2 separate regions of the Homo sapiens genome follow, and region 1 is linked to region 2. The links are contacts of gene promoters, found by promoter capture Hi-C in human tissues and cell types (Jung and others, 2019). All regions are on one chromosome and are shown on one strand. The core of a region is centred on a gene start or on the middle of the fragment in contact, and the rest is flanking DNA. Distances in the headings are between cores, read along the strand shown.

Region 1 (6,225 bases), core at 2,163-4,662, 200 kb after region 2:
GTTTAGACAGTCATCAGAAATATCTCTGCCTCTTCTGTCTCCCAAAGTGCCTCTAGAGCCACAGCAAATCTCAACTCAGATTCTAGAACACCTCCTCCCATTGGCAAAGGAGGACCAAAGCTGTCTAATTTTAGGGTCTAACAGTTGGCATGCAATTAAAACTATATTTATTATGGGCCTCAGAGGAGAATAATTTATTTATGGGTAAATTAGAATCATTGCAATATAAACATGCTCCCACGGATCAGGAATTTGCTATGCTCAACCAGGGACCATAAGAACTCTGCCACTTTTACAATATGGAGCTCATTGTTTCAAAACAAGCAAAAGATCAGACATCTCTAATCCATATTTTAACATCAGTCTCAAATGCTACAGTAGGGATTCGGTCAATACTATCCATATTTTACCATTGGTCATGATTTGAGGTATTTGATCTTAAGAAACTAAGGGCAAAAAAAAAAAAAAAAGAAAGAGAGAAAGAAAAGAAAATGTTCTTCTTCCTGAAAAGAAATTATATTGGTATTAAAGTTCAGACTAAGGGTATTTTTGGTTTCATTTGGTTTTGGCTTTGAAAACTTTGCTGACCAGAGATTTAGATTGGGATAAATGAGTTTAATTATGCTGGTTTATTTTGTGTCATGAATTTGCTAAAATAAACTAAAGGAAAACATACCTTATATTTAAACAAGGAAAAACAGAAAAATAAATAAGATTTCTCTCCTGAGAAGAGGGTTACTATAATACTTCTGTCTGCCAATTCAGTATCACTGTTAATTTTCTCTTTAGGAGTTTTCCATCCTTATGAGAGCATGTCCCCACCTCCTACAGTGCAGCTTTATAAAAAGATATAAAGCATATAGAAAACACACAAAAGCATGTGTTGCTCCCAACTCTTCAAAACTATATCACAATGTTCTATGTGAGGTAAGTTATTTTTTTTTCTTCAACTTATTTTTGTGTTCTGCTGTAGAAAAAAAGTCTAAAACACACAGCTAGGATTTAGTTGTGTAGCTCTGTTATTTGACCTATTTTTCCAAGATTGAGGACTTCAAATTTTTGTAACCTGTGACTATGTTCTCTGGGTTATGTATTTATGCTCCTTTTCCTGACCCCCACCCCTCACCGCACTATCATGAATTGGCCCTGGCATAAGTACTTACACACGATCTCTAACTATACTCTTTTGTGGTCAAACCCATTCCACAGAAAGAGAAATGAAGAGCTGAAAATTATCCCTGAGCACCTCTCCTAAATGAGGACACAGTCACCCTCCCCTTGGATCAGTCTTCAGTAAAGCACCTATTGGTTTTTCATGGAAACATTCATTACTACATAAAATAATATTATTTATTTATTCATTTACTTGTTACTGTCTGTCTCCTCTCACTGGAACATGCATTGTATGAACTTAGGAAACTTGTTTTTCTAATTCATTCCTATATTCCCAGTCCCCAGAAGAGAGCCTGGCACATAATAGGGATTCAGTAAATGTTTGCTGAAGGAATGAATTTCCCATCGACTTTGGGAGTGCAAACAGTGGATCTATTAAGCAAATCCTTAAAGGTATCACTCAAGGATTTTTAGAATCATCTAGATAGAAGGAATCCCTTAGGTCATTCAGAGTTGGCAAACTTATTTTGTTAAAGAACCAGACAGTAAATATTTTCAGCTTTATAGGCCATATGGTCACTGCCTTGACTACTCAAGTCTGTCACTGCAGCATTACAGCAGCCATAGACATTATGTAAATGAATAAGCAAGACCGTATCCCAACGAAACTTTATTACAAAAATAGCCAGTGGTGGAGTGAAGCTTGCTGACCCCTCCTAGACCAATGGTTTCCCAATAATTTTCTATGAATGAGTTTTACCAAGGACAATAAAAAGAAGACATAAGGATTTACTGTGAGATTTTTCATCAAGTAAGATTATTTCAACTTGAAAATTATTTTTTTCTGAGTGTATGTTCTTTCCATCTTTTAGTCTTCGAAACATTTCTTTAGCTAAGTTATAGTGATAATAAATTGTGTATTGTTAAAATCCTTTCTTGGAAAAACAAAATGTTGGCAACTTTAACAAAGTTCCAAAATATTTTGTTGAAATTTTACTATCCAACAAATTCAAACGTCTGCCAACTCCCATGGCTCTAGTCCATACATCTTATTCTACAGTCCAGTTCTTATTTGCAGTCAAGTGAGTCCTTTCTGTCTAGGGTAAACAAAGGGGTTCATGAAAAGATCTGAGAAGCTTATAGAATCTGGGAGGACCAGAGACCTGAGCCCTAGGAGAAAGCCACCCCACACCACATGACTGTTTTGGCAGAACACACACTCCTGCTGTCTGTGGCACTGCATCTACATTGATAAGGGCTGATGCCAGAAACGCTGCCTCGGCTGCCCCCAAAGAACAGATGGCTCTAGCACCATGCCTGTCAAAAGAACTGTTTCCCATCCCACTCCTGTGCCCAGCCAATGCCTTACTATACTCCACCTCCGAGTCTCACAAAGAACCATCACCTTAGCTGAAGCAAGGTCACATGCAGAACCCCCACTTCAAGGGATGTGGAAAAATGAATGTTTAGCTCTCTACCCTCTTTGAACTGGAAGCCAAGCTAAAAGATGGCTGGAATGGGTGCTAAGCAAAACAGTTTATAGCATCTTCCAAGAGAATCCTGAGGCCTAGAGCCCTTCACCTTCAAGGGAGGGGAGTTTCAGCCCAACGATGGCTAAACTACATTTTTGGGAGGAAAAAGTAGCATTTGGAAAGGTTGTCTAGTGATTGACACAACGGGAACATTTTTAGCCCATTAGTGAAAGCCACAAAAGTAGAAAAGTGAAGAGCTTCCAGATAACTCAGATCTCAAAACAACTTTGCCTGATCACCAAAGCAAAAGGTAAGAAACACACAAAGAAAACCTTCTCAATCATTCAAATAATTGCTTTAGTGGGGTTTTTTGTTTTGTTTTGTTTTTCACTTACGGCACATCCTCAAACCCTGAAGTTCAATAGGGTAGGGTTGGGGTTGCTTCTCCTGAGTGATGAACCTTAGCTTCTGCAGGCACCTTTCGAATTTAAACAGTAATGTCAATGAAGCCACTCACCCCTGAATCCAGAGAGGATTCTCTTTAAATAAAATAAATATGAGAAATAACATTAGCTTCTTTGTATCTATTAACACATAATTGCAGTGAGATAAGAGCTAGAAACAATACAATTATACCAGAAACATTCCACTTACAAAAACAGTTGTTTACTGTGATTTTCCAGTAATCAGAGACTAAACACATCAAAATTTTAGTAGTGGTTATATGTGAATAGTGAAATTACAATGACATTCATTTTTGTAAAATATTTTAAAAAACCGTTTATACTAAGTATATAGTCCCTTTTTAAAAGAAAGCAATTTACTTTCAAACAATATGTTAATGTATAGATATAATGCATTTATTATTTTTACCCCTTCACCAAATAATTATAGTTCTTTAAGCGCAGGATGTTATCTAAAACATATAAGCCTAACAGTTATTTGTGATATTATCCCTTTCTCAAGCAGTTTATAATTAAATGATCAAAATTTAATAACAAATGATATCATCACAAATACTATAAAAGCGTAAGTATTCTTATAAATACTAGAAACTTCATTTTTGAGGAGAAAATGTGAATGCTGGTATGCACATGTAATTCTTGGAGGTACAAAGTTTATGATTCTGTGAGGGGATGAGGGGCTTGGGAAAGAGATGAAAGAACATTGCACTACAGAGGAGGAAAAAAAAGATTTGCACACAGAGTGGTTCATGTCTGCTGAGAATCTCTGTTCAGTGGTGTCCTCAATTTCTTACTAGAGCCCAGTGGCCAAAAATATCATTTGTGCAGATTTGTGTAACCAGTCCTCCTCAGGATTAAAAATACATTTTTAAAAGTTATAGCTACTGAATTTTCTAATGAAACAAATCAGGACAAAAGATGTTATGTCCTAGTCTGTGCAAACAGCAGATGTCTTAGCCCATTAGGGCTGCCATAACAAAAACATCATAGACTAGAGGGCTTAAACAAAAGAAATGTATTTCTCAGAGTTCTGGAGGCTGGGAAGTCCAAGATCAAGGTGCCACTATATCTGGTATCTGGTTAGGGCCCACTTCCTTGTTTTTAGATGTGTCTTCTCACTGTGTCCTCACATGGCAGAAGGGGTGAGGGAGCTCTCTAGGGTCTTTTTTATCAGGGCACTAATCCCATTCATGAGGGCTCCACCTCATGACCCACTCATCTCTCAAAGGTCCCACCTCCAAATACCACCACATTGGGGATTTGATTTCAATAAATGGATTTTGGGGGGACATATGTAATCCACAATAGAAAGCTAAAATAAAAAAGAAATAGAAAGCTAAAAATACTCGAGATTTGCCAGCCATGTTCTGAATAAGCTAATCCCCTCCAGAATATTATTTATTCAGTTTTTCACTTCTTAAAGTAGAAAGCAAAGCTTTAAAGAGGTTGGGCCATGCCCCGTATTAATCTTTTTTGTTTTAACTAACACATAATAATTATATGTATTTATGAGGTATAAAGTGATGTCTCAAAATATATATACATTACATAATGATCAAATCATCATGTAGCACATCCATCACCTCAAACATTTATCATTTCTATGTGATGGGAACATTCAAAATCCTCTAAGTATTTTAAGATATACCTTAGTGTTTACTATAATCACCCTACTGTGCAATAGGATACCTAACTTATTCTTTCTAATTTTAACTTTGCACCTACTGGGCAACCTCTCTCCAATCCTTCCCTTCTCAGCCTCTGTTAACCCCTATTCTATTCACTATTTCTATGAGATCAACTTTTTAAGATCCAAAATATGAGTAAGAACATGTAGCATTTATATTTCTGTGTCTGACTTATTTCATGTAACATTATGTCCTCCAGGTTTACCCATGTTGTCACAAATGACAGGATTTCATTTTTTTTAATGGCCAAATAGTATTCTGTTGTGTGCAAGTACTACATTTTCTTTATCCATTCATCTGTTTTTGAACATTTAGGTTGATTCCATATTTTGGCTATTGTGAATAGTGCTGCAATAAACATGAGAGTGAGGCATCTCTTTGACATACTGATTTTATTTCCTTTGGATATATACCCAGCAGCAGGATTGCTGGATCATATGGTAGTTCTATTTTTAATTTTTTGAGGGACCTCCATATTGTTTTCCACAGTGGCTATACTAGTTTACATTCCCACCAACTGTGTGTGAGGGTTTACTTTTCTTCATATCCTTGCCAACACTTGTATCTTTTGTCTTTTTGATAATAGCCATTCTAACTATAGTGAAGTGGTATCTCATTGTGGTTTTGATTTGCATTTCCCTGATGATTAGTGATGTTGAGCATTTTTTTCATATGCATATTGGCCCTTTGCATGCCTTCTTTTGAGAAATGTCTATTCAGGTCTTTTGCTCATTTTTAATTGGATTATTTGGGACTTTTGGGGGTGGGTTTGTTGCTACTGAGTTCCTTATATATCCTGACTATTGACTCCTTTTCAGATGTATAGTTTGCAGATATTTTCTCCTATTCTGTAGGTTCTCTTCACTCTGCTGATTGTTTCCTTTGCTGTGCAGAAACTTTTCAGTGTGATATACTCCCATTTGTCTAATTTTTTGCTGTTGCTTTTGGTCTTATCCAAAAAAAAGTAATTGCCCAGTCTAGTGTCATGAAGCATTTCCCATGTGTTTTCTTCCAGGAGTTTTATAGTTTTGGGTCTTACATTTGTCTTTAACCCATTTTGAGTTGAATTTTCTATATGGTGAAAGACAGGGGTCCAGATTCATTCTTCTGCATGTGGATATCCAATTTTCTGAGCATCATTTATTGAAGAGACTGTCCTTTCTCCATTGCGTGTTCTTGACATCTTTGTTGAAAATCAGTAGATTTTCTTGGCTGTAGATGCATGGATTTATTTCTGGACTTTCTATTCTGTAATCCTCTTTCTTTGGACTAACTTGAATATTCTCTTGTGGCCAATTTCCCATCAGAGATTTTTAAAGAGCAGCATCTACACAGTGTTCTGAAACCTGCTTCTCCACCAACATTGAAAACACTGGTCTTCTGGTAGCCTCTCAGCTGGGTTTATATTCAGGAGATTCATTTACAAAGAAATAGTCTTGTTCGTCAATGTCTAGGTTGCAATTTAATCACATTTTCATAAAAATAGAG
Region 2 (5,700 bases), core at 39-2,538:
CTTTACGTATTATGTATATTTATATATTTTACATTTTTTCCTGAGATACTTGGGACAGAGTTAGAATAATAAAGAGAATTATAGAGGATGTGTGAGAAAATTTGCCGTAGGTGGAATTTCCTGAAGGTCTACGAGTAAAGACACTGTATTTCCTTAAAGGAGGAAAAAGATGGAACCTCTCCTCAGCTCATGACAGCCTTCCTTCAGGTTTATATTGATCCACAAATTATTTAGTAAGTGCATACTACGTTCCAGGCACTACACAACAGGCATAGTTCTTGGTGCTGGGAATACAATAAAGAATAAAATTTCCAATACTTTCTGCCCTCATGGAGCTTACATTCTCATGGGGGTGCGAGGGAGGGTGAGGGGTGTGAGGAGAAACATAAACAATAGAAATAAAGTATGTAATATAATATATGGTACTAAGTGCTATGGGGAAAAATAAAACCAGAAACAGGGACTGGGTGTGCCGCGTAAGGCGATTCATTTTAGGGAGATCATGGAAAGTCTCGCTGAGCTGATAACATCTGAACAAAGATACCTTGTCCTCACCACCTAGAAAGCGGTCCTAAGCCGATCACTGGAAACACCTCTGCCTCCGACCATCCCATATTGTCTTTCTCCTTGTGTTCCCAGCGCCGGTACAGTAACAGAGCTGCCACCAATTACTGAGCACAGAGTCCCCCTCCAATCAAGCACTGTGCCAGGGGCTCCCCAGACATAACGTTAGTCCAAAGCTCGGGAGGTGCATGTTACTATTCCCAATTTTTAGAGAAGAAAGTGAGTCGCCGACAGCATATGTTCTTATCACGCGGCTAGGAAGCGGCAGAGCCGGGTTCCCACCCAGGTCTTCCTCGACTCCGAAACCACATGGAGGCGGCTCTGCAAAAGCTGTTAAACGCACAAGCCAACAAAGAGCAACGCCCAGCGCGTGCCAGGCCCCGAGCAGGGGAGGCGAACGCCGCGCCTCCCGCCGGCGCTGCAGAGGGCACCTGTTCAGCCAGGGCCTGCAGCCCCTCGCCTGCCGCCAGAGCAGCTCTCGGTTCTCCCGGATTTACCTGTTGAGGCGCTGGCGTCGCTCCCACGCCGGTCCCGGTGGCCGCGCCCGCCCCTGCCACAGCCCCGGCTACCGCGGTGGCCGCAGCCGCTACCACAACCGTCGTCAGTGCGGCCATGTTTACCCGCCGAGCTACTCGGGCCGCGGCGGCCACCGGTGCCTGGGGATTCGTGGCAGGCGCACCCTGGCCTCTGCAGACAGCTCCCTGCGCTGCGGGCTTGGCCGGGATGCAGGGCGGGGCCGAGATGTAGGGCGGGGTCGGGATGCAGGGCGGGGCTGAGATGCGGGGGTGCAGGGGTGCGGGGGTGCGGGAGGGGCGGGACTGGGGTGCAGGGCGGGGCCGAAATGCGAGGCGGGGGCCGGGATTCAGGCGGGGAGGGGCGGGGCGAGGGAGGGGCAAGGTGCCGGGCGGAGCCGGGATGCAGGGGAGGGGCGGGTCTGGGGTTCTGGGGCGGGCGGGTGTGGGGGCGGGGCGGGGCGGGGCGGGGGCTGCGCTCTGCCCTGTCGCGGGTTTATATACCCTTTGGGCACTTAACCGACTGTGCCAGCCCAGTCCCATACCTGTCAAGAAAATTCATTGTCTTACATCGTCCTTAAATTTTATTCGTGTTATAGTCAATATATACATATTTTTACCTAATATACATCCGCTTTCTAGGTTTCTACTTAGCGCTGCTGAGACTGAGTCTAAATGAAAAAACATTATCAATGGATTCTAACAATAAATCATATTTTAGATTTTTAAAGAAAAAAACCCAGCTTGCTCCACAGAACCAGATATCAGAGGCAGGAATGCCACAGTTACATTCCTAGGACTTGGTCAATGAGAAGACAGATTCCAAAAATACAGTGCTGGGAAGTTGGAAAAAAGCCACAGATGACGCTTCCAGTCAAGACAACCTGTGGCAACTGAGCTGATTTCTGTAGGTACTACCTTTTCCCCCTTTATAGAAATCGATTCATTCAGTCAGTCAATATGGAGCTCCTAGCATATGTCAGGCACTGTTCTAGGCCTTGGGAATTCATTGTTGAATTAGACACATAGGTAAGGTTCCTTCACCTTTAACAAGTAAACAAATAGGTATTTATTGAGCAATTCCTTTATGCCAGGGCTGTTATAAGTGCTTTATATGCACTTTTGCATTTAATCTTCACAAATAACTTCATGAAGTAGGTACTATTATCATCTCCATTTCAGTGATAAAGTTAAGGATCACATGGCCACACAGGTAGAGGGTAGGATACCTATCTAGACAGCCTGACTCCAGAGACCATCCTGGTAGAGGTATTAAACAGGCAGCGGGATAAACGCCTCTGGAGCCCAGGAGAGAGAGAGCTAAAGATACGAATTTGATCTTCCTATAGAAAATATTTGAAATAAGACTGAATGAGCTCACCCAGGGTGAGTATAAATTGAAGTCTGAGAACTAAGCCTAGGCCACTCCGAGAAGGTGACCACGGACAAGAGGAGAAGGGGACCAATATGGAGAGATCTGTGAGAAGGGAGGAAAACCGGAAGTCTGTGGAGGGAAGTTTTTGCAGAAGAGGCCGGACGTGGTGGCTTACGCCTGTAATCCCAGCACTTTGGGAGGCCGAGGTGGGCGGATCACGAGGTCAGGAGATGGAGACCATCCTGGCCAACATGGTGAAACCCCATCTCTACTAAAAATACAAAAATTAGCTGGGCGTGGTGGCGCCTGTCTGTAGTCCCAGCTACTCGGGAGGCTGAGGCAGGAGAATTGCTTGAACCAGGGAGTCGGAGGTTGCAGTGAGCCAAGATCGTGTCATTGCACTCCAGCCTGGTGACAGAGTGAGACTTCGTCTCAACAAAAAAAAAAAAAAAAAAAAAAAAAAAAAAAAAAAAAAAAAAAAAAAGAGAAGAAGAAGAGGGGAGAAGAAGAAGAAGGAAGAAGAATGGAGGAGAAGAAGAAGGCAAAGAAGAAGAAGGAGAAGGAGAAGAGAGAAGAAGGAGAAGGGAGAAGGGAGAAGGAGGAGGAGAAGGAGGAGCAGGAGGAGGAGGAGAAGGAGGAGCAGGAGGAGGAGGAGAAGGAGGAGGAGGAGGAGAAGGAGGAGGAGGAGAAGGAGGAGGAGGAAGAGAAGAAGAAGGAGAAGAAATAAGAAGAAAAAGAAAGAAGGAGGAGGAGGAGAAAATGGTCAGCTGTGTGGTTCACTGCCTAGAGGCTGAGTGAAGGGGTAACAAAGAAATGATGGTTGCATTTGGCAACAGGGAGGCCGTGGGTTTATGGGGTAGGTAGACCAAAGCCTGGCTGACTGCATTGAGGAGATAATGGAGGTGACGAGGTAGAAACTGTTTTTCGCTATGATTTTGATCGATTTTATGGTGCAGGTGATCAGAGAAATGAAGTGGTAGCTGGGGGAAGATGTGTGATCAAAGAGGGTCTTTGTTGTTGTGTTGTGTTTCAAGGTAGGGACTAGTAGAAGGAGTTCATGCTGCTGGGAATTATTTAGTGGAGACAGAAGTTTGATGCTGCAGGACAGAGGCAGTCAGACCCTCTTGAAAGTAAGGCTGATGGAGTCCAGAGCATAAGTGGGAGGTTTGGTCTTTGATAGACGCACAGACTCTTCTGACACAGGGAGGTAGTGGGTGGGGACTATGGGGAGGCCAGAGAGTCCTGCATACATGGGTTGCAGCACAAGGTAGTTGGAAGATTTGGAGGGAGGAGATGGTTGGCCCCACCTCCCCACCCCTGTGTGAAGTAGGAGGAAGTAAGTCACTTGGGTGTATTGAGAAGGTAAAACTTCTTTAATTTTTGTATTACCTTTTATCCAAATGAGCCCTGTTACTATAGCACTGTCTGAATTCCTGTAATTATTAGTCCAGAATTATCTTGCAGCCTCGGAAAAAAAGCAAGTCAACCAACGATTTGAGTTGAGTGGTCTTTTACAATTTTAATACTGCCACTAAAAATAAAGAGAAGCCTAAGATCATTTTGCACTTCCTATTGTTTTTAGAGTATATCCTGCACTGGATATCTAGAGTACTGTGTTCAGAAGTTTTCTGAAATCACCCTTTTCTCTATGTGCTATGGAATCAATTTGATATATATTTCAGTTCTTTTGATTACATTTGTGTTCAATTTCAATGTTTCCTTTTTTGTTTTGTTTTCTTTCAATTTACTTTTTTTAAAAAATAAGTAAGTTATGTATAACATGTATAAAGTCAAAACTCTATGACAAGGTATGTTTAAAGAAGGCTTACTCCCCAACATATCCTCTCCATGGCCTTTCAACTAATCCTCTATGGTAAATAATTGTGTTAATTTCTGGTTCTTTTATGTTTCATTTGCAAAAGAAAAAAAGGTAAATAGACAAATACATTTTTATTTTTCTTTTTTTCTTACAAAAACATCTAGCATATTATATTAGTGTTCTAGGGCTGCATAACAAAGTGCCATAAACTGGGTAGTTTGTAACAACAGAAATTTATTCTCTCATAGTGTAGTAGGCCAGAAGTTCAAAACCAAGGTGTGGGCAGGTCTGGTTTCTTCATGGGGGCTTAATGGGAAAATCTGTTCCATGCCCCTCTCCCAGCTTCTGATGATTGCCAGCAATCTTGAGACTCCTTGGCTTGTAGAAGCATTACTCCAATTTCTACCTCCATCGTTGCACAACACATATCTGTGTCTCTGTGTCCAAACTTTCCTCTTATAAGAATACCAGTCACTGGTTTAGGGCCCATTCTAATGCAGTATGACCCCATTTTAACTTGATTACATTTGGAAAGACCCCATTTCCAAATCAGGTCACATTCACAGGTACCAGGGATTAGGACTTCAGCATATCTCTTTCGAGGACACAATTCAACTGATAACACATGTATTATACTCTTGAAATTTTTGCTTAACAATATATACTGCACCTTGAAATTTTTGCTTAACAATATATACTGGAACTTGCTTCATGTCAGTTCACAGAAATTTTCTTAAATTTTAAAAATTAAATGCATAATCCTCCGTTATTTTATTCAGCCAGTCATCTGCCAATAGATATTTAGGTGATTTCTAAACTTTTGTTGCTGCAAGTAATGATTCATAAGTATTTCATATTTGGGAAAGTGATTATCTTCAGTAGAATAGCTAGGTCAAAGGTTAAATGCAAATGCAACCTAGTTAGATATTGCTAAATTCCTCTCCATAGGAGTTGTACCATATTGCACTGCCACTAACAATGTGTGAGGGTGCTTGCTTCTTTATTGCTTGAGATCTTAGTATTTAAGTTGTTGGATTTTTGAAAATCTAAAGAGATGAAAAATCGTATCTCTCAGTAAGTTTAATATGGGCATACCTGTTTTTATTGTGCTCCACTTTATTGTGCTTTGCAGGCACTGCATTTTTTACAGATTGACGGTTTGTGGTAATCCTGTGTCAAGCAAATCTATTGGTGCCATTTTTCCAACAGCATTTGCTCACTACGTCTATGTGTCACATTTTGGTAATGTGACGGTATTTCTCGAAATATGCTCACGATATTTCAAACTTGTTTCCTATTATGGTGATCTGTGACCAATGATGTTTGATGTTACCATTTTAATTGTTTTGGGACACCATGAGGCATGCCGAACTTAATAAATGTTTTGTGTATTCTGACTACTCCACCAGTTGACCGTTCTTCCATCTTTA

Evidence for each region. Contacts are between HindIII fragments. The study calls those that stand out against the background at their distance.
Region 1: a contact is called between a fragment that was not itself captured here and the fragment with the promoter of CCDC112 in region 2, in 1 of the 25 tissues and cell types used here (H1 embryonic stem cells).

What each region holds. Positions count from the first base shown.
Region 1 is chr5:115,495,023-115,501,247 of GRCh38, forward strand. No RefSeq gene overlaps it. Among named protein-coding and RNA genes, the nearest start is that of FEM1C, 47 kb to the right of the region's middle. The HindIII fragment of the contact is 5,940 bases long and covers 443-6,225 here.
Region 2 is chr5:115,295,366-115,301,065 of GRCh38, forward strand. CCDC112 (coiled-coil domain containing 112) reads right to left here and starts at 1,289. Exons shown (of 10, transcript NM_001040440.3): 1 at 1,062-1,289. The coding sequence starts at 1,178. LOC105379129 (a long non-coding RNA gene) reads left to right here and starts at 1,563. Exons shown (of 5, transcript XR_948684.3): 1 at 1,563-1,983. RefSeq lists a silencer at 938-1,387. The HindIII fragment of the contact is 13,864 bases long and covers 1-5,700 here.